Linked DNA regions of Homo sapiens: region 2 is linked to region 1. The links are contacts of gene promoters, found by promoter capture Hi-C in blood cells and fetal thymus (Javierre and others, 2016). All regions are on one chromosome and are shown on one strand. The core of a region is centred on a gene start or on the middle of the fragment in contact, and the rest is flanking DNA. Distances in the headings are between cores, read along the strand shown.

Region 1 (3,167 bases), core at 285-2,784:
AAATTAGCTGGGCGTGGTGGTGCATGCCTGTAATCCCAGCTACTCGGGAGGCTGAGGAAAGAGAATCGCTTGAACCTGGGAGGCAGCGGAGGTTGCAGTGAGCCGAGATGGCACCATTGCACTCCAGCCCGGGCAACAAGAGCGAAACTCCGTCTCAATAAAAAAAAAAAAAAAAAAAGAAAGAAAGAAAGAAAGAGAGAAAAGAAAAGAGTTCTTAGGTGTGAGGCCCTGCAAGGAGCAAATGGCCTGGGCTACCTTCACTGATGCCCTCAGCACCTTCTAAGGTGAGGCTAACACCAGCTCACATTGATGAGCTAGTGCTGGGCCTGGAGCAAAATGTGTATTTCATTTAAGCTGCCCACCAGCTTGTGAGGCAGGTGCATTACCGTGACGGCGGGGCTCCTCAGAGTGTGTATAAGAAGAAAACTGTGCATGGCCAAAGCTATGCTTGAAAACCCTCAGGAAGGCACCACCTCAAGGACCAACATAGCATCACTTAGTAAAGGCAACAGCCTTGGAACAGATGACTCGTGTGTGTGTGTGTGTGTGTGTGTGTGTGTGTGTGGCATTAGATGAAGTAGTAACTTGTGTTTAGAGGTTGCCTTATTGCACAAATATAGTTGCTTTTATACACTGGACTCACCCTCTGCCAATAAGTTGTTCAGTTATGAGAAATGAACAATGTCTGAAACTAAGAAAACAGCAAATTCTCACCTCCTATCTCCAGGGAATGTGCTCTTTGGCTAGAATATATGGCAGAATCAATAGTGAATAAAATATATTGTGGAAACAATAGTGAATGGAATATATGACACTACCAATAGCAATTGTTAAGTTTTTTTTCTTTTTAATTTTTCTTTTTAGGTTTGTCTAGTTGAATGCATCTAAGTTTTATGTGCATATGAAGAATCACTGTTTTCCTATTATACAGATTTGGAAACTGAGATTCCCAGCTTTTAACTCCTTGCCTAAGGTTGCATAGCACAGAAATAGTCATATCAGAAACTGAGCCCTGTCTGCACAGTGTAGCACCTTGTTCAGCCCTGGGTGCCTGACTCACTCACTCCTTGAGGACCCTCTCATGACAACTGTAAAGAGGCAGCTGAAAGAATCCCAGTCTTTGATGGTGGGAGGGGAAAGTGGTTGGAAAGCATTAAAAAAACATGCTCCAGCAGTTCACTGATGTGGGAAATTGTCTGTATTTCAGGTCAACCGTCAGGATAGATTTTGGTCTGCAAAGCCCCAGCTGAGCAAGAATGCAGTGTAGACATATGGGTGCCCAGAGTTTAAAGGAAAATTACTCAGACTCACATTGGAGTTTAAGACCCCTTCATTGCCTCTCCTACTGGGTTGGGGTGACTGGAGCCAGTGGGGAATTACCAACCCTGTGGCTCTCTCTGCATCTCAAGCCTCCAGAGCTGGGCTTCCTTGTTTACTTATTTAGAGCCCAGCAGAGGAAGTGGTAAAGGAAACTAGCTGAGTCGTTTTCTGAGAAGAGACCATATTTGTTCGCAGAGGAAGCCGTTGCTTTCTGGGATCTGGCTACGCCAGAAAAGACATCGGCTCCAACAGGGGTGTTCCACAGGGTAGCTGGGAGTTGGAAGAGCCAAGAACGCCTCCGAGCTCTGGATTTGAGCTTCTCTGCCCATGGGTGAAGCGCCCATGCTCAGCTTGTGAGCTTCTTCCCGGGAGAGCAGCCATGGCACTGAGGAATGTGCCCTTTCGCTCAGAGGTCCTGGGCTGGGACCCCGACAGCCTTGCTGACTATTTCAAGAAGGTAAGCCTTGCTCTTGTGTGAATGGTCATGATGCTAGTGCCCTTGGTGGGCTGAGCTGAGGCTTGACGATGGAATTGGGGCAGAATGTGGGAGGTGTATAAGATAGCAATGGAACCCTATGGCAACTTTACTGGTTGAGTGAGCGCCATATAGACCGCTGAGTTTTCCTGACCATGAGTTCCGGAGAGAAGGATGGGAGCAGAAGCCCTCAAATGAGTATGTGCCTATTATGTGCTAGGGTTTGAATTCGGTGTCTCACAGGCACTGTCCCATTTAGCGCTCCCTACTATGTTGTGAGGTCAGCATTGTTATCCCCTTGACTCAGCTGCAAAATCAGCTCAGGGAAGTGAAATGGTCCGAAGCCCTAGGGACTACATGTGATAGAGGCAAGACTCAAGCCACACCTATCTGGTTTTAAAGTCCATGCTCTGAGATGCAGAGAACTGTTGTAACTGCTAATGAGATCAACGCTACTTACTAGAAAGGGGAGACGTGGTGTCCTGGAGGCAGGAGAAAGAATAGGCAGGGTGGGAGGGCTGGATAGAGGACTATGATGAGCAGTGCCAGACACAGCATTTGGGCTTTCACTGCTCACGACCCTAAGGGGGGTCCTCAAGCTCCCGCCTGGGGCAGTCTCCTTGGAGCCTTATGAGAGTCTTGTGAAGCAGGACAGAAAACTGATGTGAGCCCCAATTTATAGCTATGAAAACTGAGGCCCCTAGAGGAAAAGAGGCTTGTGGCGGTGCTGGGACCAGAGCGTTGCTGTCTTATCTTCTGGACTTAGAGGAAAGGTTGAAGGATCCCTGTGCTTGGTCATTGGCAGAAGGGGACAACGCATCTGCTTGGGCAGATCTCAAGCCACATGACTTAGTTATAGTCCCTCTACCCTGACCATGTGGTAAGATGACTTGTGCGAGACGGTTAAGCTTCTAACACCCTCATCCCTGCAGGCTGGCATCGGATTCTGTTGATATTCCAGACTGTCATAAAGATGAGATTGTAAAGCTAAGATGGTAGAAGTCATCTAATTCAGCTTCGTGTTTTTCCTGGGGAAATTGAGATTCAAGAGGGTAGACGAGGTTCCCTAGGACGTATAGCCAAACCTGGGGTCTATGCATTTCCGAGGCATTTATAGTCACAGCTGTTCTCCCCCAACCTGAAGAAGAAAATGAGAACATGTTGAACTAGGTGTGGTATGGTAGGGGTACAGTTCACAGATCCTGTTTTTTGCCATATTTTGTGCTTTCATTTCTGTTATTTTCCTTCTGCAAGGTCATAATAAACTTAGATTTCAGCAAATATTGTTGCGCAACTGGTTTTTTGAAGGATGTTTCTAAATATCTTGCTCAAATATAGACCAAATAAGATAGGGCAACAAGGTAAAATTTGC
Region 2 (3,349 bases), core at 331-2,830, 130 kb before region 1:
GCTCACCGCAACCTCTGCCTCCCGGGTTCAAGTGATTTAATGGGAAAAGTTCTGAACACTTCAGGCTATCATACGATGGGAAAGGGTGGTATCCAGAAGCAGCAAGTTCTCCCTCAGCAGAGGAGTACAAGCAGAGGGCAGACCTCTCACGCCCTTTTTATTTAGCCCTCACAGCAGACTGTCAAACCCCAGATACCTTCTTTCCTAGCACCACCCGCAGCTGGGCAGGGACATAGAACCAGGCTTTGATCAAAGGGGCATTGAGAAGGGAAAGGTGGGTCACTTGGCAAATATTTTCCTCCCCCATAAAGGGTGGGAAGGTGAAGGTGACACACACCTTTCTTCCTATTGGCTTTAGTGTAGGTGGTTTCGTGAGGCTATGATGTCTGTAGCAGACACAGCCACCCCGTGAGTACTGATGGGACAGCAGACAGAATCCCAGAAACCGCCCAGAGCCTGGACATAACGGAGCTGCTCTAAAGTTCTCAACACCCTGATCTCTTGCTATATAAGATGATAAATATCAAGGCTTAGGCTATGTTTGTGTCAGATATTATGTTCCTTGTTGTTAAATTCCATCAGCCTGGAATATTGTTTTAATAAAAAAAAAAAAAGACAGCATTAAGCCCAAATCTAGCTCCAAAGCATGGGTGAGTAATGTGTACTTTGACTGTGGTTTTCATGGAGAGACTGAAGAGGACCTTGTATCCTATCTTTCGCACTGTGGCAAAGCCCCTTAAGCATAGCTGCTCTGGCTGTCACGTTCCTTACCCTCAGGTGGCTGCCACGACATCCCCACAAGTCCTTCCACCAACCCTGCGTTTCCCAGCCTCCTCCCGTTTCCAGTTTACCTCCTTATTCTTTTTTCTTATGTAGAGCAAATTTAGGCTTCTCTCAACTTCACTGAGGAACACAGATGTTGTCCCTGGGACACACCCACATTAGAAGGGGAGGAGTGGAAGGAAACAGGTGGGCAGGGAATAGTTGAGCATGGTTTTGAAGTATGAATAGGAGCTCACCACGTGGAGGAGAGAGGAAGGCATTCTGGAAAGGGGAAATCACACTTGTACATCTAACAACACTATTTTCTTTCTACCATATGCTGAAAATACTAAATGTGAAGTTAACCCATAGGCCTCCTCTGGGAGGCTCTGGGCAGCTTGCCAGCTCTGGAGTTGGGGGTTGGACTCAGATGCTGCAGGAAGTGTGATGGGAAGAGTTGTCTCTGGGCCATCTGGCTCCAGCTGCCTGGCAGCACACTTTCCTTTGAGATGAAGGCGAAGGGGTGGGAGCAGCTTCTCAAAAGGAAGTGGAGGAGGTGGCAGACCCCACAGGTGCAGCCTGGGAGCAGTCCTGGGGCCCAGCAGCAGGCCGGCAAGGTGGAGACCTGGTACAGGGGACCAGTGGAGACTGGTCACGTCCCTGTTTGCATTGGCTGGGAACCCCTGGGTGAGGATACAGTGGTTCTCAGCTGGGGATGAATTCTCTTCCCCATGGCAGGCTGTGCTTTTCAGGGCCTAGTCCTACCACTTACTGGCAATGTGAACCTGGGAAGTCGCTTCCCCTTTCTGTGCCTATCTCAAAACTGGGGAAATAAGAATGCCCGCCTCATAGGGCAGCAGTGAGGATTAGATGAGATGGTTGTAGCTATAATGCTCCTGTCCAGACACAAGAAAAGAGTGGCCATAAGCTGCCAGAACCTGGCCCAGAGTCTTACACCTTACGCCTTTCTCTCCTGGTCGTTGGAGGCCGCAGGAGGGGCTGGGAATGCAGGGGTTCTGGTCGATAGTCCTAATGCACCAGAAACAGCTGGCTTGGGTCTAACTAGTGACTCTCAGCACCTCTTTAAGGCTGTGACTTGCAGAGGAGGATGCTATTATTTCCATTTGGCAGGTGAACCTGCAGAGGCTCTGGGAGGCCATGACTCTCCCCTACCCTGTGTTGTAGCAGAAAGCAGGGAACCTGCAGCCCCTGCTCCAGCCCTCCTTGGGCTGAGTCAGAAAAGGTCTGTCTTGCCCTCAGCTCCCCACCCCTGAAAGGAGGCCTCTTCCCTCTCCCTGTGGAGCTGGTCCTGCGGCCGCGCCTCTTCCCTCTCCCTGTGGAGCTGGTCCTGTGGCCACGCAAAGGCTGCACATGGGGTGGTTTTTATCTGGGTTTCTCCTCCCTGAGGCCAAAACATGGCTTTCTTTCTGCAGGCTGGTAGGGGAGGCGGGCTCTCAGCTCCACCCTCTACGAACCCCTCTTGGGAGTTGGGTGGAAGCAGATGCTTTCCCAGAAGTTCTTTCTTGGCTGCTGCAGTGAAAATCTGGGTGGAGTGTGAACTGTTCCTTCAGGTAAATCAGACAATGCTGACAGCAATTGCCATTTACCAAGCACCTGCAAGCTCAGGCACTGTGTTAAGCCTCTGTGTGCAGACTGCCCTCCATGCTCACAGCGCCCCTAGTGCTAGATGCGGCTGATAGCTCCATTTTGCAGACTGGTAAAACTGAGTCCCAGTGGCAACTAATCTGCTTAGTGTCATGTAGACAGTAACTGCTGGATCTAGGATTTATCCCTGTGACTTTGTGACTCAAGCCTTCGCCCTTCAGTATGTCCCAGTATTAACTCTCAGTAGGAGGCAAAGCAAGACAAGGTCAGGCTTCCAAATTGAGCTGGAAAATGAAACAAAGAGGATAAGAATGTTATTAACAGGGTTTGTCTGGAACAGAGCAGCTGCCTCAGGGGGCTGATATGACTGATAATATTAAAAACTGTGTGTGTGTGTTTGTGTGTGTGTGTGTGTGTGTGTGTGATTCCTTTTGAGTCACAAAGCATTAGCAAACATTTTCCCAAGCATGCTGGGCCTGAGGATACAGGGGCCTAAGAGAACCAGTCCCTACCATGGAGGAGCTCTGCATCAGTCAGTGGTTCGAGGAAGAAGGGACTTACTGCAAGGAACCAGCCGCTTCCAAATCACTGGAAGGGCTGGAGAAGCGGCCACCAGGCTGGGCCTCCAGGAATAATCCCCAGCACACTGCCAAACTGACCTGCCCGGGGCCACTACCTCAAAAGCTGCTGAGAAAATGCCTGAGTCCTAGAGCATGCCACGGACCAGTGCTGCAATTCAGGAACCAGGAAGCTGTCCCCATGGCTGCCACCAATGCAACATTTTCTGTCACCAGGAAGCAGTAGGATGGTCAATGGCCACAGACAACCTTATATTTCCAGGACCTTGCCTGCCTGCAGGAAGGTGGCTCCTGCCTTCCAGATCTTGCTAGGGCGTAGGGGACTGACACCCAGAGCCCTCACCTGGAGAGGTCTGGTGGTCTTCTTCATGGCACAGAGGCTTCCGTGGCAGAGGAAGAGGCAC

Evidence for each region. The method cuts DNA at HindIII sites, captures the fragments that hold promoters and counts their contacts. A CHiCAGO score of 5 or more calls a contact.
Region 2: a contact is called between a fragment that was not itself captured here and the fragment with the promoter of LCP2 in region 1, in 2 of 17 cell types (monocytes and M0 macrophages). The highest score is 7.4, in monocytes.

What each region holds. Positions count from the first base shown.
Region 1 is chr5:170,296,144-170,299,310 of GRCh38, reverse strand. LCP2 (lymphocyte cytosolic protein 2) reads left to right here and starts at 1,534. Exons shown (of 21, transcript NM_005565.5): 1 at 1,534-1,777. The coding sequence starts at 1,700. RefSeq lists an enhancer at 2,352-2,431. The HindIII fragment of the contact is 7,744 bases long and covers 1-2,705 here.
Region 2 is chr5:170,425,690-170,429,038 of GRCh38, reverse strand. It overlaps a transcript of KCNIP1 not described here. Among named protein-coding and RNA genes, the nearest start is that of KCNIP1-OT1, 38 kb to the right of the region's middle. The HindIII fragment of the contact is 3,703 bases long and covers 1-3,349 here.